6 separate regions of the Homo sapiens genome follow, and regions 1, 2, 4, 5 and 6 are each linked to region 3. The links are contacts of gene promoters, found by promoter capture Hi-C in blood cells and fetal thymus (Javierre and others, 2016). All regions are on one chromosome and are shown on one strand. Each heading gives the region's core, a stretch centred on a gene start or on the middle of the fragment in contact. The rest is flanking DNA. Distances are from core to core; before and after follow the strand shown. Region 1 has its middle 140 kb from the start of FAM30A. Region 2 overlaps AHNAK2 (AHNAK nucleoprotein 2). Region 3 holds the start of TMEM121 (transmembrane protein 121). Region 4 has its middle 20 kb from the start of LINC00226. Region 5 has its middle 8.3 kb from the start of PLD4. Region 6 has its middle 120 kb from the start of FAM30A.

Region 1 (2,903 bases), core at 154-2,653, 540 kb after region 3:
AGTGTTCTAGATAAACTAGGTGGGGCTGATTCAATCACAGCATAACAGAAGATGATGGGACTCCACGGTGGATGGCAGATGCAGGTCTTCCCAGGAATTCCAGCCTGTCTTTCCTGAGGTCCAGAAGTATTGACCTTAGGCTGCCTAGCCAGACCCTACAATTACTGTTACCCAGAGCTCACCCACAATGGACTATCCATCATCAACTCTCCTCAAAGTTATAGGTGAGGGTCCAAACTCTGTGACAGTGTGAGAAGCACAAGTTCAGCTCTACATCAATATCCAATTGGAGAAAACTAGTATTATTCCCTTAATGACTAATGTCCACTTCATTTCCCAAATGCCTCCATGCACAGAAGACAACAGGAGTGTCCAGACAATGGTGAGTGAGAAAGTCTCCTCAGCCTACCCAGGTCCTGCAGACCTGAGCCCTGGGATTTTCCCTGAAAACAGAAAACACATCGTTTGTTCTCAGGGAAGAGAAGAAGAAAGCGAACTGTGAGAATCAAACCTACAGAGAAGCAAAATGGATTAGCAGAAAAAGGGTCAACTGAATCAGTCTGAGTTTACAAGACGAGGGGGGATAGCTGTGAAAACCATCAGGCTTTAAGGACCCCGACCCTGGGTGAGCCTGTCTCTTGGCTCCCATCAGAGCTCAAAGCCCGTTCTAATCAGAAATTCCCATGGAGGTCTCTGCCCTGAGTCTAATTGGAAAACACTCTCCAGGTTTCCCTGGGATTCCTCAGGACTCTCATCCTGTTGACCACGAAAGGATTATTTCTGCCCCCAAAGTGACACCCTGGCTTCTGTGGAGCTGAGGATATGTACTCCTGTTGCAAAAAAACAAAGAAACAAAAAGGACAAAAAAAGTATTGCATTTAGAGACATGAAATGTCAGTACAGAATTGTAAATCTGGAGAAGTTCCTGGGGAAATTTGACAACGAGGCAGCCCCAGACCGCGACAGGAAGCCAGCCCTCAGCAGCACCTGCACCTGCCCTGGAGACAGCCCCGTGCTCAATGCCCTGTCGCCCCCTGGTGGTCCCAAGGGACCCCTGCAGGGAGGTTTGTGTCTGGGCTCACACTGACTTCCCCTCACTGTGTCTCTCGCACAGTAATACACGGCCGTGTCCTCGGCTCTCAGGCTGTTCATTTGCAGATACAGTGAGTTCTTGGCGTTGTCTCTGGAGATGGTGAATCGGCCCTTCACAGAGTCCACATAGTATTTCTCACTTCCATCTTGCTTTATGTTGGCCACCCACTCCAGCCCCTTCCCTGGAGCCTGGCGGACCCAGCTCATCCAATAGCTACTAAAGGTGAATCCAGAGGCTGCACAGGAGAGTCTCAGGGACCCCCCAGGCTGGACCAAGCCTCCCCCAGACTCCACCAGCTGCACCTCACACTGGACACCTGCAAACAAAGAGACACCAAGGTCAGAAACTGCCACACAAATCCACTGTTTCTCACACTCATATCCACACACACTCAATCTTCCTAGTTTTCCATGAATCACCTTCTAAAATAGCAACAAGGAAAACCCAGCTCAGCCCCAACTCCATGGTGAGTCCTCTGTGCTCAGTGCTGATCACCAAGTGGAAAGGCCTTGGAGTCCAGGGCTAAGGCTCCTCTCTGAGACCTGCAGGGTCAGGGTTGGGTTGGTTTTCATCAGTAGAGGGAGGGCCCTATTTGCATGTCTCCTACTATATAAGAAGCTCTAGTGGGATGCTGGAGGAATAGGCTGTACCCATATAAGAAGACGGTGCTCTGCAGAAGTTTGCTGACAATGATGGTATTTGGAAAATATGCTGTCTTATGAAATTGTGCTGTGATAAACACTTTGCCCTGATCACCCTATTACATTTTTTAAAAAATGTGTAAATTATGCTCTGTAGGAGTCAGTATTTTCTCCTTTTACAGAAGTGGAAGTAAACCCACACATGGGGGGGCTCTGTATGCACCCAGGAGCTCATGTCTGGGATGAGTGAACGCTGCCATCTGGCCCTGTGCTTCTCGTCACTGGCTCTGACATCCCCCTAAACCAACTCCAGGACAAAGCTGTACATGCCCGGTGTGGTTTTCAGAAGCCACTTTCTGTAATAAGAGCATGTGTGGTTTTGCTGCTGTTCTGTGTGTCAGGCATTTATTTATTATAAATCATGGGTAGTATTCCAGTGAACACATTTACCATAATTTGTTTTTCTATTAAGCAGCTTAACAATATTTGAATTCTCTGTGACTCTGGGTCTTACCAAAAAACCTGCAACTCAGCTTCAAAATGTACATAGATGAGGAGTATATTTTACTTACTGTTTTACAGCATCAACATAACAGATAAACACAGGAGATGGAATTTTGCCAATTTTAAAATATACTTTAAATACTGGAGGTTTTAAGATAATCATCAAATCCGAAATTTAGGGAGAGACAAGTTCTTGCAGAGAGTAAAAAGGCATGGGTACGAGTTGAACTGAGGCAGAGTCTGGCATATAAAAATGTAGGCTATTATAAGAGAAAAAAATACATAGATACTGAATTGGTGAAGTCAAGTGTGGTAAATGTGTTGTAGCGTGAATTTCTCAGGGACCACATACTGAAGAGCTTTCCTATACCTTGAAACCTTTTTCCCAAAAATGGGGACAGTCACAAAAATCTTTTGTCCCAATGTGTCTGTCTGGGAGAGAAAAAGAGCCCACACTCTGAAATGCATTCAGACCCACCTCCTTAATCCCCATTGCAGAACTAAGAAATTACTCTGCAGGAGCAAGCCACCAAAGCCAGGATCTTAGGGGCACTGGGGCCATCCCTTAGGAACTGAGATGGAAAAAGAGGTCTTCACCTAAGTTCCATTGAGAAGTATCTCCCCTCCTTCTTATTTAATCAGAGCCTTAATCTCTAGGTCAGGTC
Region 2 (3,182 bases), core at 467-2,966, 590 kb before region 3:
AGGAAGCTTCTGAGGATGGGCCACTAAAGATGGCCAAGGTCACCTTTCTGTGCTGTCCCCACTCTGCACTCCATCTCCCATCCCACACTGCCTCCAGCTGGAGGGAGGGAGGGAGGGTTGTACGTCTGTGTCCCTGCCACACTGTGAACTCAGCCCTATCTTCCTTGTCTTCCTCACAGCCTCTGGCTCAGAGGAGGACCTGGACAAATGGATGATAGGTAGGCAACCACCCAAATGTTCCTCATTGACTGTTCTCTAGAGCTGCTTAGTAGAGACCAGGAGTGTGTGGGAGGAAAGCCCTGGTAAACTTCGACCCTGAGACAGAAGACCTCAGCAGCCTTCAGCATGGGATGCAGCACTTTCTTTATTGCCCATCCAGGGAACAGCCAAGCCAGCTCCATCTGCATTCTGGCTGCAGCGTGTACATTAGGGGACTCAGGGGCCACAGTGTGGGACCGTGCACACTGGCAAGGCACTGGCGGATGCTGGCAGGCCAGTGGACATGGATAGATGAGAATGACAACTCACAGATGTCCTAGCTTCTGCTGGCCCAGCTGCCAGCCACTGGCCATCACCCTTTTGCCCAGCATGTGTGCATTGTCACCCAAAACATCTTGAAACTTGCCATTAGTGAGGCATTCAACAAAGAAGTAAGCTAAGTGAGTAGGAAACAGTGTTTCCTGGAATATACCGCACTCTGCCTGAAATAGGAAAACTATGTTTGCCGGGAAGCAGCAGCAGCAGGAAAGAAGTTATACCAAAAACGACTTGTACACCACAGACATTATAACCCTTTCCTCAAAGAAACAGTCATGTTCTGTTGGGTATTATGGACAGGTCTCTGGAAATTTATCTAATAAAGACCAACAAACTTCCCCAGCAGTGCCTCTGAGTACCGTGTGAATTCTGGTGTCTTGTGGAAGTCAGGGTGCCTTCTTTGCATCCAAAGCTTTGAGGGAGCTGGGAAGCTTTGGTTCCATTTTAGGAGGGCTGTGTGATGGTGACAAAGGTGTTCTGGTCATTTCTGCTCTGTTCTCCGTTCTGTGAAGTGAGGTGGATGTAATGTGCTGTGGGATGGGGTGCTCCATATGTGTGTGTAGCCTTTACTTTCCAACTTAGTTTTTTGCATCTCTCTTGTACTGATGAGCCATACCTCTCAGCCTTCATTTGGTCCCAGGCCTGACCCTTTGCTTTCATCGTCAGCTTTTCTGTCCTGCTCGGGCAGGATTAACTCTGTTCTTGCCGCGGATGTCACCATCACTCTGGAGTCCAGCCCAGTGCCCACAGGCCCGATCAGTTCACCCTCTTCCTTCTCTTCAGGGGAGAAACTTTCTCGGGCATCAAAAAACGTGATTGTTTCTTCTTGAAGTTTTTGTTCTTCCAGCTCTGCCCCATCTTCGGTGCTTTTGCTTTTCTTGGTAGGAGATGAGGAGAACCCTAATTTGGGAAATCGGAACCAGCCTGCCTTCTCCTGTTTTTTAGGCAGTTCTGCCTCTGGTCGTGCCTCAGGCTGTGTTTGAATGGGAGCAGATCTCTGGACGTCATTTTTGGAATCAACACCTGTCTCATCAACAGAAGAGGAAAACCCAATGTTTGGAAGCCAAAACCAGAGCAGACCAGATTTTTTACTTTCTGGTTTGTCTTTTGGAGCCCTGCCTTCATCTGCCAGTGGTGTGGTTGCCTCTTGGCTATCATCAGGGGGAAACTCAAGAATTTCTGCTGGCTCCTCATCTGAACAGCTGTCTGCAAGCTGGTGGCCAGAAGGAACTTCAAATGTGAGTGTTTGCTGTCCCAGTACATTGACGCTGGAAGAGATCATCTCAAATGGTTCTCCAGTGTCAGGCTGGAGATCTCCAGAAATGGAGTCTACTCCTGGGGTGGCTTGTATGGGAGCCTCTTCTGTGCCCTCCTGAGTCCTAGAGTGTTGAGTCATTGTTGTGTACACTCTAGCCTGCGTGTGGGGCTCTGGGATTTTCACTTTTAATAAGGAAAATCCGTACGAAGGTGTTTGAATCTCTGACGTGGGGATCTCTGATTCCCGCACAATCTGAGTGGAAAAAGTCCTGGGTACTGAGAGATCTACAAACTCTGGTGTCACTATGCTGTGTATAGTGACCTCTTGACTTTCAACCTGAGCACCCTGAATATGCACTCTGACCTTTGAAATTGGGGGAGCTTCCAAAGGCAGGTTAAGGTCCACAGGCTGCTCCCCAGGGACCCCAGCACCTGCCTTCAGGATGCTGGCTCCCCAGAGCCCCGGACTTTCCTTACAAAGGGCTGTATCAATATTGGCCTCTGGACACTGCACTTCCCTCACAGTGGGGATGAACACATCATCCTCTGAGCTGGGGGCAGGGAAGGAGAACCTTGGTACCATTAATTTGGGGAATTTGACAGTTAGGACAGAATCTTCCCACAGTTGATCCACATTAACCACAGAAATCTGGGATGGCATATCAGTACTTGAAGCTTTCAATTTAAGTGGACCTTCAGGCTGGGAAGACCATTTCTCTGTTTTATCCTCCATGCTGGCAAGGTCATGTCCTGGCTTGGAAAGAGGAGTCTCATCTATTTCTCCTGGAAGAACCTGGGTTTCTGGAAGCCTCATGCCAGGCATCTGAAAAGGGAGAGGTCCTTTGGATGGATGGATCCTGACCTCAGAAGTGGAAAGCTCATCCCCAGTCATCCCAGCAGTGGAGAGGTGCAGCTTCAAGCCTGTGCTGTCAAGATCACACCTTAGAATATCTGTGGATGATTTGCTCTCAGAAGCTGTCACTTCTGCATCTGCCTCTGGGAGCTGTAGGGACATAGCTGCCTCCACGTTTGACCCAGAAACAAGGAACTCTTTGACTTTAGCTGCTGCTTCACCCCCTGTTGCTGCCGGTGCCTGTGTCTGAGCCACTTCCAGCTTTCCAGCCCCGCCTCTGTCCCTGAAAGAGCGCCTAAGGCTGGGCATGCGGAACTTGGGCATTTTAAACCAGCTTTCCTGCGAGTACTTGGTCATGGCTTCCTCCTCTGGGCTTTCCACTGTGAGGACTTCAGCATCTGGTTTTCTACAGGATGGCTGGAGGGGATCTTCAGGTGTGGGGGCTATCCCCTCCCCACAAGGCTGGCTCACTGGGACATCCCCGAGCCCACATCCTCTGCTGTCACCTTCGGTAGACAGATCATGTTTGGGAAGA
Region 3 (3,068 bases), core at 199-2,698:
AGACAGAGTCTCACTCTGTTGCCCAGGCTGGAGTGCAGTGGCAAGATCTCGGCTCACTGCAACCTCCATCTCCCGGACTCAAGCAATTCTCCTGCTTCAGCCTCCCGAGTAGCTGGGATTACAGGTGTGTGCCACCACGCCCGGCTAATTTTTATATTTTTAGTAGAGATGGGGGTTTCACCATGTTGGCCAGGCTGGTCTCGAACTCCCGACCTCAGGTAATCCGCCCACATCGGCCTCCCAAAGTGCTGGAATTACAGGTGTGAGCCACCACGCCCAGCCCATGGATTGCTTTCTACTGCTTCTCCCTGCCCACCATCTCTCCAGCGACAGGGGACCACATCTCCTGGGGCTGGAAAGGAAGGCTCTTCTGCCTCAGCGTTTTAGGTGCTTGTAAACCCTATGCCTTGGTCATGGCTTTGGTGGGATACCTAGGGGCTGGGGCATCAGAGAATGGAGAAGAGTAAAAAAACAACCACTACCAAAAAACCCCATCCTCCCAAACCCTAACATCCCCCCGGGCATTCTCCTGCACCCTGGGAGCATTAGGCGACCTTTTTCTTTCCTCCCCTTGTGCCAGGACTAGAGAACTTCTGGAGCTCTCTGTCCTCTTCTGGCTTTCAGGCCGTGTTGAGTCCAGGCCCGGGGATACGGGAAGAGAATCTGGAAGTTCACTACCAGTTGGGTGGTGCCTCAAATTCTGGTCTTTCCACCAAATCTGGTGTCCCTTTACCTCTCTGACCCTCAGTCTCCTCCTATGTCAGAGGGAAGTCACAGCAGTTCTGGGAAGGAGGGCAGGCAGGCAGAAGGTGCCCTCGGGTTCTTCTCTGGCTCACACGGGATGGACAGGATGTGGGGGGAGGGGCTTAGTGCCACCTCAGTGACAAAATGAAGCCCAAGTCCCCAAACCCTAGCTTGCCTCCTGGACGGGCTGGAGAAGAAGGTGGGGGCCGCTCATCATTCCTTTCCTCTGCCCTGAGAAGAAACCTGGGAAGGCTGGGTTTCTCCCCAAAGAGGACAGAGGGTGGCGCGGAGGGCCCCGGCGGCCAGGCCAGCCCCGCGCCTACATCCCTGTCAGCTCCTGGGCCGGTGGGCGCCTGTCCGGCTGAGTGGGGTCGCTCTAGGGGGCGGCAGCGGAGTTTCAGGGCGCGGGGGGCACTGGGCGGGACCCTGGGATTCTGGGCGGTGGGTGAGGAGGGTGGAGACGGGACTCCGCGCCTGGGGGTGCGCGAGGGCGCCCCGCTCCCCAGAGCCACCAGTCCTGCGCGCCGCCGCGCGGTGCTGTCGCCGTGGCAACCGGCGCTGCGGAGGGGGCGGGGCACCGGCACCCCCGCGCTCCCAGGTCCCCAGGTCCGGCGGGGCTCGCGGGCCGAGGGGCGCGGGGCGGGGCCTCTGGGTCGGGGGCGGTGCCGCGCGGGCGGGGGAGGGGCGCGGCGGGAGGAGCCGGCGCGGCCCCGGCAGTGGCGGCAGAGGCTGGGCGGGCGGGCCCGGGAGCGGCGCAGCATCTGCGGGCGGCGGGGTAGGCGCGGGCGCGGGCGGGACTGGCTGGGTGCGCGGCTGCGTCCGCGGAGGGGGCGGCGGGCCTGGGCGACCCTGCACCTCTGGGCCGTGGGGACTGTGGGGTGGGGCGGGGGCCGATGCGGCAGGGGTGAGGCCTGGGGCCGGCGGGGTGACGGGGACCCGGCCCTGCGTGGGGAAGCCTCGGGGGGACAAGCAGAGACGCAGCCTGCTGGGAGCGGCCCAAGCTCTGCACCGGCCCGCGGCGGGAGCACAGCAGCCCCCTCCCGCCCCTCCTCCCGGGGGCTCCGAGGGGTGGTTATGGGGCGAGGGTCCTTGCGGGGCCCGGGCAGTGAAGGGCCTGGAGGCCCCAGAGTCTGTGCCAGGTCTGAGCCGCGGGGCGTGGGGGGAGGAGGGGCCTCGGCCGGGGCCCAGGAGACCCAGGACAGGTGGGCCTGGGGCCAGGTCCCTACGGAGAGGTGGCCGGGCCGGGCTCTGGCTTGCCGGGGTAGGGGCTCCGCTAGGGGCTGGAGTCCGTCCCTTCGCCAGCGCAGAGCCCCTCGGCCCGCATCTGCCAAGTGACTGAGGATCGAGCGACAGCGTAGTGGGGCGGAGGGGCTGGAGGCACGGCCGGAAAGGGTGAGCGGCGCCGTGGCTCCCCCGCTATTTATTTGGCCCCGCCACGCGCGGAGAGGGAGGAAATTCTCAGGCTGCGGCTGCAGCTAGGGGAGGCCCAGGTGGGCCTGGAATGGGCCCAGAGAGGGCTTCCTGGGTCAGACGTGTAGATCCAGTGGACGTGAAAACCGGGTGAGTGTCCCGGTGGGACCCAGAGCGCGGGGAGGCTTGGAGGCAGGGGCATGGGCTGAGGACCCTCAAGGCACCCTCCTCGCGACCTGTCAGAGCTCCGAGGGGTGGGGGTGTCCTGTGTGTGGCTGTGGGGATCCTGGGCGGCGGGTGCTGGGTGGGGGCAGGGGTGGGAGTGCAGAGTTCAACGCTTTCCCGGATCGGTGGGGCCTGCGGTGTCACCAGGGCAGTCCGAGCGCCCGACTGTCACGGGGACATTAAATTTTATGCCTTTGTCTAGACACGGCAGTAAACGGAGCCCCAGGCCTGGGGCTGTGGAGGGGGTGAGGGGCTGGCTGGGAGTAAGCCTGTCAGTGACTTTGGGGTGGGTGCGGGTGTGCGGGCCTCCATTGTCACCCAGGTGTGCACAGGCCCAGGTGCGGGGACTCCGACAGCACGGCCATGAGGACCAGTGCCAGGTGTGTGACAGAGGTGCAGGGGCCTGTGGAAGCCCGACGGGCCTTGGTGGACGGGCTTCCCGAGATTCGAGGGCAGCCACAGGCATCGCCCTGGCGCAGAGGAGCAAAGCAGGGTGGCTCTGCCGGGGCAGAGGGTGGGGGACAACACCTCGCCAAGGCAATGCGGAGCCATGGGGAGCAGGGCAGGCAGTGGCCACGCGCCCAGGATGGTGGACAGGAGGGGAGACCGAGCCTGCCCGTGCAGGGAGGAGGGGCGTGGGGGCTGCCGGGCAGGGGCGGGGAGGCTCGGAGAGGCTTGTGGGACGGATG
Region 4 (2,957 bases), core at 458-2,957, 740 kb after region 3:
GACATAGAAAATAACATTTAAAAAATTCAAGATCTCATAATAAAACCTCTAAAAGTTAGGAATACAAGAATATAACCTGTATATAATAAAAGTCATTATTTAAAGCCATACTTTTATATGGAAGAGTGAAAGGTTAAAATATTTTGCTATAGCATCTGTAAAAAGGCAAAAATAAACTTACATCTTACTTCCAGATTTCAAAAGTAATAACAAAAGTAGAATAATAAAAACAGGATGGAGTTGGCATAAATATGTAGAAAGAGCTCAGAAATAAACTGATGTATCAATGGCAAACTGATTTTCAGCATAAGAACCCACAATATAAAACAGATAAACCAAGTCTCTCCCTATGAATGTGTTAGAAAAACTGGATGTACACATGCAAAGAGTTAAGAATTTTGGGTTAGAATAAACACAAAAATCACTCTGAATGGGCCAGATATTTAAACATATGGCCTGCAATTGTAAAATTTCCCCGACCCAGAAAATAATATATTAACAATGATTTCCTATATTTCACATTAAAGGCACAGACAACAAAAGCAGAATTAAACAGGTGGAACTACATCACAACAAAAAGATTCTACAAAGTGTGGAAATAATTCCAACCTACAGAATGGGAAAATATAATTGCAAGCCATGCATCTGAAAAAGGGATGACATCCAAAAATACATGCAACATCTACCACTCATTAGCAAAATCATATTTGCCTGATTGGATAGTGATCACTTTTTCACCTTAAAAAATTATGAACATAGATCTCATGTTAAAGATTCTTCCCTCTGGGTAATGGTAAATTTGATGGTACACTTGGTTAGGATAGACTTTGTAGTTATTCACTGCAACACTAATATATGTGGTGCTGTGAATTTACTTAAGACAAGCAAAACAGGTGGGCCTGATTCCATCAGAGCAGAACTGGAGAAAATGAAATTCCATGGTGTTTCAGCAGCTTTGCCTCTCTCTGGGACCTCCAGCCTGCACTTATTGATGGATGATCTTCTGGACACTGGGTATTCCCAGACATCTCCAAAAACTGTCATCCTCCACATCTCACAGAAAAGTGGCATGTCTTTTGTCCTTGCGATAGTTTGCTGAGAATGATAGAAGGATGGTTTCCAGTTTCTTCCGTGTCCCTACAAAGGACATGAACTCATCATTTTTTTCCTCACTCATAGGTGGGAATTGAACAATGAGAACACATGGACACAGGAAGAGGAACATCACACTCCAGGGACTGTTGTGGGGTGGGGGTAGTGGGGAGGGAGAGCATTAGGAGGTATACCTAATGCTAAATGACGAGTTAATGGGTGGAGCACAACAACATGGCACATGTATACATATGTAACAAACCTGCATTGTTCACAGGTACCCTAAAACTTAAAGTACAAGAATAATAAAATTTTTAAAAAAAGTCATAAAAAAAGAAAGTGGCATGTCCATCTGTAGCTTGTCAACCCTGAATAACAGAGAGAGAGAGACTCTAAAATATAATAATATGTATTCTAGGAAGTGTATTGCAATTGAAATGTATGGGTGCATTCAGGTTGGTATAGGAAGATAAAGAATAAAGGAAAAATGAGGAGGGTCACATCAGCTGTTTAAGACAATTGTCCTGGGCTAGAAGGATCAATAACAGGGGCACATCGGTGTAAAGTTGAACAGGGAGTTGCTGGGCAGATACACTGGGAGAAGTAATTCTTTTAATGTTGTGGTGGCTTCTGTGCAAGGTTATGGTTGTGCAGAGTCTATTTATGGTAGTTCTTATTATCAGGAATATGTGTGTTAGAACCCTCCTTCATGGCCTTCCCCAGCTTCATTCATTAGGGCTTTAACACAAGTGGCTCCATCTTGATTCTGATAAATTTCACCAGCTCTTTCTAACACTACTTCTGAAGCAGACGACTCTGACACTGTGCACGGAACAGGGTTAACTCCACATCCACATCCCATTTTGATCAAATGAGTTTGTCCCCTTCAGTATTAATGGTCAACTGCATTCCCAGATGAGCCTACACACAACACAGTGGAGGGTCCTGAGAAAATGGGGAGAGAAGGAAGTCCCATCAGCCTCTCCCACGTGGCTGCAGGAGCCACAGCCTGAGCCCCACCTGAGCTCCAAGAAAATGCCTTGAGCCCTGGAATGTGGACCAAGGGGACCATCTGTTTCTTTTTCAGGAAACAGGAAAAGCAAATAAAAAAGGGAGAAGAAACTCTCCAAAGAAAGAACATGGATTGGGAGCAAAAGGAGCACCAGGTCAGTGCTGATGCTGATTGGCTTTAGTGTCAGGAGAAGGGTCAGACGTGGAACCTGTGAGGTTCTACATGACTCTGGCCCTGGCCCATCCTCTCTGTTAGATGTGATCAAAACTCATAAAGGCTGTCCCTGAGGTTTCTGTCCCAGGACTGATTGCGGAAGAGTCACCAGGCACCCCTGAGTTTCCTCAGGACTCTCATCCTGGTGACCATGGTTGAGAACTTTTCATCTCTGTAAGCGTCAATCTGCATTTGGTGCGTGTGAGAATAGGTGCTCATATTAAAATGATCTTTTAAAAAATACGTAGAGATGACATTAGTAAGCACAGAATTCTGAGGTTAGAGAGGTTCACTAGAGAAACTGTCAGAAGAAGATGAAGTCCCACACCCTGACAGGAAACAGCCTCCATCTGCACCTGCCTCTGGGGATGACTCTGATCAGCGGGTCCTGAGCGCCCCCTGCCGCTGATTTCCCCCCCATCGTTCCTGCAGGGAGGTTTGTGTCTGGGCTCACAATGACTTCCCCTCACTGTGTCTTTCGCACAGTAATATACGGCCGTGTCCTCGGCTCTCAGGCTGTTCATTTGCAGATACAGCGTGTTCTTGGAATTGTCTCTGGAGATGGTGAACCGGCCCTTCACGGAGTCTGCGTAGTATGTGCTACCACCACTACCACTAATAGCTGAGACCCACTCCAGCC
Region 5 (3,178 bases), core at 530-3,029, 610 kb before region 3:
CCAGAAGCCTTACAGATCACACAAACAGTTGATTAACACATATCTTATGTTGTCTTTATTATATGCTATATTCTTACAATCAAGTAAGCTAGAAGAAAGAACATAATATTATTAAGAAAATCATAAGAAAGAGAAAATATATTTGCACTTCATTAAGTGGAAGTGGATCATCCTAAAGGTCTCCATTCTCGTCGTGTTCACAATGAGTAGGCTGAGGAGGAGGAGGAAGAGGAGGGCTTGGTCTTGCTGTGTTAGGAATGGCAGAGGCAGAAGAAAGTTTGCGTGTAAGGGGACCCATGCAAGTCAAACCTGTGTTGTCCAAGTTTCAAACTGTGTATGATATTTTGGTTCAGTTGGGATTATTCCAGGAATCCAAGGTTAATTTAATTTTAGAAAATGTCTAAGTCATTCCATTCACATATTAAAGGAGAAAAACCATATTGTCATCTCAATGGTTGCCCCAAAAGCACATGGTGCTTCTAAAGAAGGGAGAGACTTGCTCATCAGACCGCGCACCTCAGAACAAAGCTGTGATAATGAATATAGAACAACACAGCACGGAGAGAAACGGATCAACGGAATGGGAAAGAGAACCGGGACAAAGACCCGCACATGTGGCGACTTGAGTTCGTCAGAGCTGGCCAGACATATCTGTTGGAGGAAGACGGAATAGTCTTAAATACCCACGAGGAAAAGAAGTGAAATGGAACTCTGCCTCCAGCCTTCCAAAGCAATCAGTTCCAGGTGTAGACAACACCTCAATGTGAAAAAACAGGGGGGCCTTTAGAGCAGAGTATTTGGCTTTACACACTTAGATAACAGCAAAAGAAAAAAAAACTTGCAAAGAAATCTTAAATTTCTCTTACTAGTATTACTGGCTGTAGAGATATTGGAATTGTTATTTTGAAAACATGTTAAATATAGGGTAAGCTAAAGCTAGTAATTACATTAAAGTTGTTAGGAGCCAAAATTTTCCATATAAGAGAAATGACATACAAGTACAAAACCAAAGAAATTAAGAAAAACTCTTTTTTTTTTTTTTTTTTTTTTGAGACATGGTCTCTGCTCTGTCACCAAGGCTGGAGTGCAGTGGTGCCATCTCGACTCACTGCAGCCTAGACCTCATGGGCTCAAGCAATCCTCCTACCTCAAACTCCCACATAGGTGGGACTACAGGTGTGCACCACCACACCCAACTAATTTTTTGTATTTTTTGTAGAAATGAGGTTTTGCTATGTTTCCCAGGCTGCTCTCAAACTCTTGAGCTCAAGCGATCTACCCACCTTGGCCTCCCAAAGTGCTGGGATTACAGGCGTAAGCCATTGTTCCCAGCCTAAGGAAAATTTTTAATGTTAAATTTGAATTGGAACTATCAATAGGAACTCATGATTTAACCTGGGTTTCTAAATGCCATTTCCCCACTTTAAAGACCCATGGACTCCTCAGTAAGTAGCTGAGTCCAGGTCTGGTGCAGGAAATGTGTAATAAGATAAGGCTGGAAGATCTTGTTGTGGCAGAAAGCAGCTGAATTAAGATGCATAGATTATTGGAAATATGAAAAAAGAATATAGTGGCCAGAATGATGGATTTTGTTAGTGGGGTAATGAAGCTGTGATTATGCAGGAAGCTTTCCTTCTTTATTCAGAAATGCATACTCAAGTATTTAGAGGTAAAATATCATTTATCTCTGCCCATTACTTTTAAATTTTCCAGCAAAAATGATGAAAGAGCTCCCACTGACCAAAGAATGATGACTGAACTGGATCAAAACACATTAAATATATAATAATCCGTGAGTCCATAATGATACATCAAAAAGTCAAAGAAAGAAAACTAAAGCAAAAAGCAAACAAAAACTCATCTGCCACCATCAGAGACAGCCCATTGCACAAACCCCTTACCCTGAAAATTGGTAATTAGAGAGAAAGATTCAAGCTTTTCTCCTGCCTCGCCAGCAAGAACTACACATATGTTGCAAGTATTGCCGACTCAATTCCAGGCCGCTGCAATGTCACATAAATGTTTCAGCTTTCCAGTGCATACAAAAGTTATCTTTATACTTTACGTAGTCTAGTAAGTGTACAATACCATTAAGTTGAAAAAAAACTGTACGTACCTTAATTTTAAAATATCTTATTGCTAAAAAATGCTAATAATCATCTGAGCCTTGGGGGAGTTGTAATCTTTTTGCCGGTGAGGGTCTCGCCTCAGTGTTGATGGCTGCTGACTGATAGGGTGGTACTTGCTGAAGGCTGGAGTGGCTGTGGCAGTTTCTTAAATAAGACAACAATGAAGTTTGCCGCATCAGTGGACGCTTCCTTTCATGAAAGCGGCACTCCCCACGATTCAAGTACAGATGGTCCCATCTTAGGACAATTCGAGTTAATGATCTTTCAACTTTATCGTGGTGCAAAAGTGACACACCTTCAGTAGAAACCATGCTTTGAGCACCCACACAACCATTCTGTTTTTCACTTTCAGTGTAGTATTCAATAAGTTACACAAGGTATTGACACTTTATTATAAAGTGGGCTTTGTGTTAGGTGATTTTGCCCAACTCTAGGGTGAAATCATATGCCTGTTAGCCATGTTTTTTTGGTTTTTGTGTTTTTTTTGAGACAGAGTCTCACTCTGTTGCCCAGGCTGGAGTGCAGTGGTGCCATCTCAGCTCACTGCAACCTCCGCCTCCCGGGTTCAAGAGATTCTCCTGCCTCAGCCTCCTGAGTAGCTGGGACTAGAAGCACCTGCCACCATGCCCGGCTAATTTTTGTATTTTTAGTAGAGACAGGGGTACACCATATTGGTCAGGCTGGTCTCAAACTCCTGACCTCAGGTGATCCATCCGCCTTGGCCTCCCAAAGTGCTGGGATTACAGGCGTGAGCTACCAAGCCCGGCCTTTGTATATCTTCTTCTCAGAAATATCTGTAAGTTGGCCAGGTGCCGTGGCTCACTCCTGTAATCCCAGCACTTTGGGAGGCCAAGGAGGGCAGATCACAATGTCAGGAGTTCAAGACCAGCCTGACAAACGTGGTGAAACCCCATGTCTACTAAAAATACAAAACTTAGCCAGGCATGGTGGCGCTTGCCTGTGGTCCCAGCTACTCCGTAGGCTGAGGCATGATAATCCCTTGAATCTGGGAGGCAGAGGTTGCAGTGAGCCAAGATTGCATCACCAAA
Region 6 (2,926 bases), core at 305-2,804, 510 kb after region 3:
TTCATGTTGAAACGTGAGCTAGGATTTTCATAAGAAAGGTATTGTTGAATTTTCCATTTCTTTTCCACATTGCTCCTCAGACTCACTGACGTGGGTTTCTGATGTCAAGTTGAGGCACTCCCTTTCTAAGAGCTGGATTTTTAATTACATGGGTATTTATGGGCTCCCTGTGTGGAAATAAGCCTTGTCTATCACACCTACCCTACGACATTTTTAGAAATTTATTTCTGCACTGTTACTGTGAGACACTCCGTGATGGGGACACATTCCATCTGTTTTATTGTTTTATAAAATTATTTTATTAACGCACCTTTCTCTCTACGAGAAAAGCTATTATCTGAATTTTCACAATTCCTCCTGCTCCCTTATCCCCACATTTTTCTCCAGTGTCATTTCCTGCAGTTTAATAAAGGCATATGTTCTGCTGTTTTGTATTCGGCCGCTTGGAGTAGTATGAGCCCATTAAACTGGCGGCCACATACCAGTGATGCATCTGGCCCAGGTAACATGAACATTTCATGCTGAATGTTTGACAAACAGGACTCAGCTTCTGCTTCTATGAACTATTAACAGGAGTCATGCCATTTATTATTAAAGAAGAAGGAGGAAGACAGGGCTCTGAGTCTAATGGGGATGGGAAATGCAGGCCCTGGCAGGAAAACGTATCTCAGCTGCACTTTCCTGTTCTGCAGAGGTGGGGAGGGAGCACCAATGAGAAGCAGCCTGGGTTTTTGTACAGGAGGTGCCCTGGGCTGTGTCTTTGTGGTCTGTGTGCACAGTAATATGTGGCTGTGTCCACAGGGTCCATGTTGGTCATTGTAAGGACCACCTGGTTTTTGGAGGTGTCCTTGGTGATGGTGAGCCTGCTCTTCAGAGATGGGCTGTAGCGCTTATCATCATCCCAATAAATGAGTGCAAGCCACTCCAGGGCCTTTCCTGGGGGCTGACGGATCCAGCCCACACCCACTCCACTAGTGCTGAGTGAGAACCCAGAGAAGGTGCAGGTCAGCGTGAGGGTCTGTGTGGGTTTCACCAGCGTAGGACCAGACTCCTTCAAGGTGATCTGGGACAAGACCCCTGTGGAGAAAGCATAAGAAGATGAAGCCCACAAACAAGAAAACTGATGTTTCACCCGTGAAGGAGTCCCTGACCACAGCACTCACATGAAGGGATGGTCAGCAGCAGGAGCGTGGAGCAAAGTGTGTCCATGGTGGGGCACAGGAGTCACTGAGCTGGGACCTGTGCTCGGCTTTTTCAACCCAGAGGAGGGTGGAGCTGGTGGAGATTTGCATTCCCCTCATCTGTGCCCTACTCTATGGGATGGAGTCAGGTTTCAGGACTCAGGAGGGTGTTGCATCTGTGGTGAGGAGCAGTGATAGTAACATGATCAGTGTAATTCAGATGGCATTAATCTAAGGCTGGGCAAGTAGATTCTGAGTAGAAGTCTTTGCAGAAGTCATGATTATGAGGTCATGTTGGTCTTTTTGCAAGAACTATTTTATGATAGTTCTTGTTGTCAGGGATATGTGTGTAAGAATTCTCCCTACACTTCCTGAATCCATTTGTCAGGGTTTTAACATATGTGACTCCATTTTGATTCTTACAAATTTCACAATCTCATCCTAAAAGCACTGGTGGAGAAGGACAGTTTATGTAGCAGCCAATTAACTCTACATCCACCTCCCATTTTAACCAGACAAACATATTTCTTTCACTACAAATGGCCACTTGCATTTCCAGAGAAGCCTATACACAATACAGTGGATGGTCCTGAGCAAGGAGAGTGAAGAAAGTCCCTTCAGCCTCTTCCACATGGCTGCAGTAGCCACAGCCTGAGCCCCAGCTGAGCTACAGGGAAAGGGCTTCAGCCCTTGAATTGAGGTCACGGAGACCACATTTACCTTTTCCAGGGAGCAGGAAAATCCAAAGGAAAAGTGAGAACGACAACTAAAAATAAAATAAATTAGAATCAAAAGAAGCACCAGATCAGTGTTATTAATTTGCATAATTTAGTGTCAGGAGAAGGGTCAGACAAAAAACTTGTGAGGGTCCCCATATTCTATATGACACTGACCATGGTCTACCATCTTTAGGCTGTTATCACCATCCTTAATGACTACTCTAAGGGAGACCCACTAAGGTCTCTGTTCTGAGTGTGATTGGAGAAGACTCAACAGGTCCCAGTGAGCTTCTACATGTCTCCAATTTTGGTGACTATGGTTGAGGGCTTTTCATCTCTGTGTCAATTTGTGTTTTGTCCATGTGAGAGTATGTCCTCAAAACACAATATTTTAAAAAAATATTTGGAGATGTCATTGGTAGGCACAGAATTCTAAAATTACAGAAGTTCCTTGGAGAAACTGTCAGACGGAGTTTTTTTCTTCTTTTTTCAATGCTTGCAGGAAAGCAGTCCTAACCTTTGCACTCCCCTCTGTGGTTGACTGATCAGTGGGTCCTGAGCACCCCCTGCAGCTCATTAGCCCAGGTGTTCCTGGAGGTTTGTGTCTCACACCGGCCTTTCCTCATGTGCTTCTCTTGCACAGTAATGTAGTGACGTGTCCTTGGTTTGCAGATTGCCCATTTGCAGAAACAGCATCTTCTTGACATTGTCTCTTGAGATGATAAATCAAAGACAAATAAATACTCTGTCGGACAAACAAATCCTGAGAAAATCTATTCCCAGCATATTAATCTTGCCATAGACGTTTTAGCAGAGTTTCTAGATGAGCAGCCATATGATATACATCCAATACCTGAATGTATCCAAAAGATAAAGATTGTCAACAATGAAAAAAATGAGGTTTAAATTTAGTTTTTGCATTTGTGTTTTCTTTATTACATAAATGTGTAAAGCAATTATAAAAATGTCAATATTACATTTTTATAGCTTATGTAATTACAAACTGATAAAATAAAAAAGGGATAG

The links. The method cuts DNA at HindIII sites, captures the fragments that hold promoters and counts their contacts. A CHiCAGO score of 5 or more calls a contact.
Region 1: a contact is called between a fragment that was not itself captured here and the fragment with the promoter of TMEM121 in region 3, in 2 of 17 cell types (total B cells and naive B cells). The highest score is 6.0, in total B cells.
Region 2: a contact is called between a fragment that was not itself captured here and the fragment with the promoter of TMEM121 in region 3, in 1 of 17 cell types (monocytes). The highest score is 5.1, in monocytes.
Region 4: a contact is called between a fragment that was not itself captured here and the fragment with the promoter of TMEM121 in region 3, in 1 of 17 cell types (naive B cells). The highest score is 5.5, in naive B cells.
Region 5: a fragment that was not itself captured here is called in contact with the fragment with the promoter of TMEM121 in region 3 in 2 of 17 cell types (monocytes and naive CD8 T cells); the score reaches 6.6 in monocytes.
Region 6: a fragment that was not itself captured here is called in contact with the fragment with the promoter of TMEM121 in region 3 in 3 of 17 cell types (total B cells, erythroblasts and M2 macrophages); the score reaches 5.9 in total B cells.

The regions. Positions count from the first base shown.
Region 1 is chr14:106,061,047-106,063,949 of GRCh38, forward strand. It overlaps IGH and IGHV3-7. Among named protein-coding and RNA genes, the nearest start is that of FAM30A, 140 kb to the left of the region's middle. The HindIII fragment of the contact is 4,678 bases long and covers 1-2,903 here.
Region 2 is chr14:104,936,907-104,940,088 of GRCh38, forward strand. It overlaps AHNAK2 (AHNAK nucleoprotein 2), which reads right to left. Exons shown (of 7, transcript NM_138420.4): 7 at 347-3,182. The coding sequence ends at 1,157. It also overlaps a transcript of PLD4 not described here. Among named protein-coding and RNA genes, the nearest start is that of PLD4, 14 kb to the left of the region's middle. RefSeq lists an enhancer at 2,589-3,089. The HindIII fragment of the contact is 1,501 bases long and covers 967-2,467 here.
Region 3 is chr14:105,525,135-105,528,202 of GRCh38, forward strand. TMEM121 (transmembrane protein 121) reads left to right here and starts at 1,449. Exons shown (of 2, transcript NM_025268.4): 1 at 1,449-1,519. The HindIII fragment of the contact is 18,865 bases long and covers 1-3,068 here.
Region 4 is chr14:106,265,815-106,268,771 of GRCh38, forward strand. It overlaps IGH and IGHV3-23. Among named protein-coding and RNA genes, the nearest start is that of LINC00226, 20 kb to the right of the region's middle. The HindIII fragment of the contact is 5,888 bases long and covers 1-2,957 here.
Region 5 is chr14:104,915,018-104,918,195 of GRCh38, forward strand. No RefSeq gene overlaps it. Among named protein-coding and RNA genes, the nearest start is that of PLD4, 8.3 kb to the right of the region's middle. RefSeq lists a silencer at 434-659. The HindIII fragment of the contact is 308 bases long and covers 1,626-1,933 here.
Region 6 is chr14:106,037,137-106,040,062 of GRCh38, forward strand. It overlaps IGH, IGHV2-5 and the pseudogene IGHVIII-5-1. Among named protein-coding and RNA genes, the nearest start is that of FAM30A, 120 kb to the left of the region's middle. The HindIII fragment of the contact is 6,337 bases long and covers 1-2,926 here.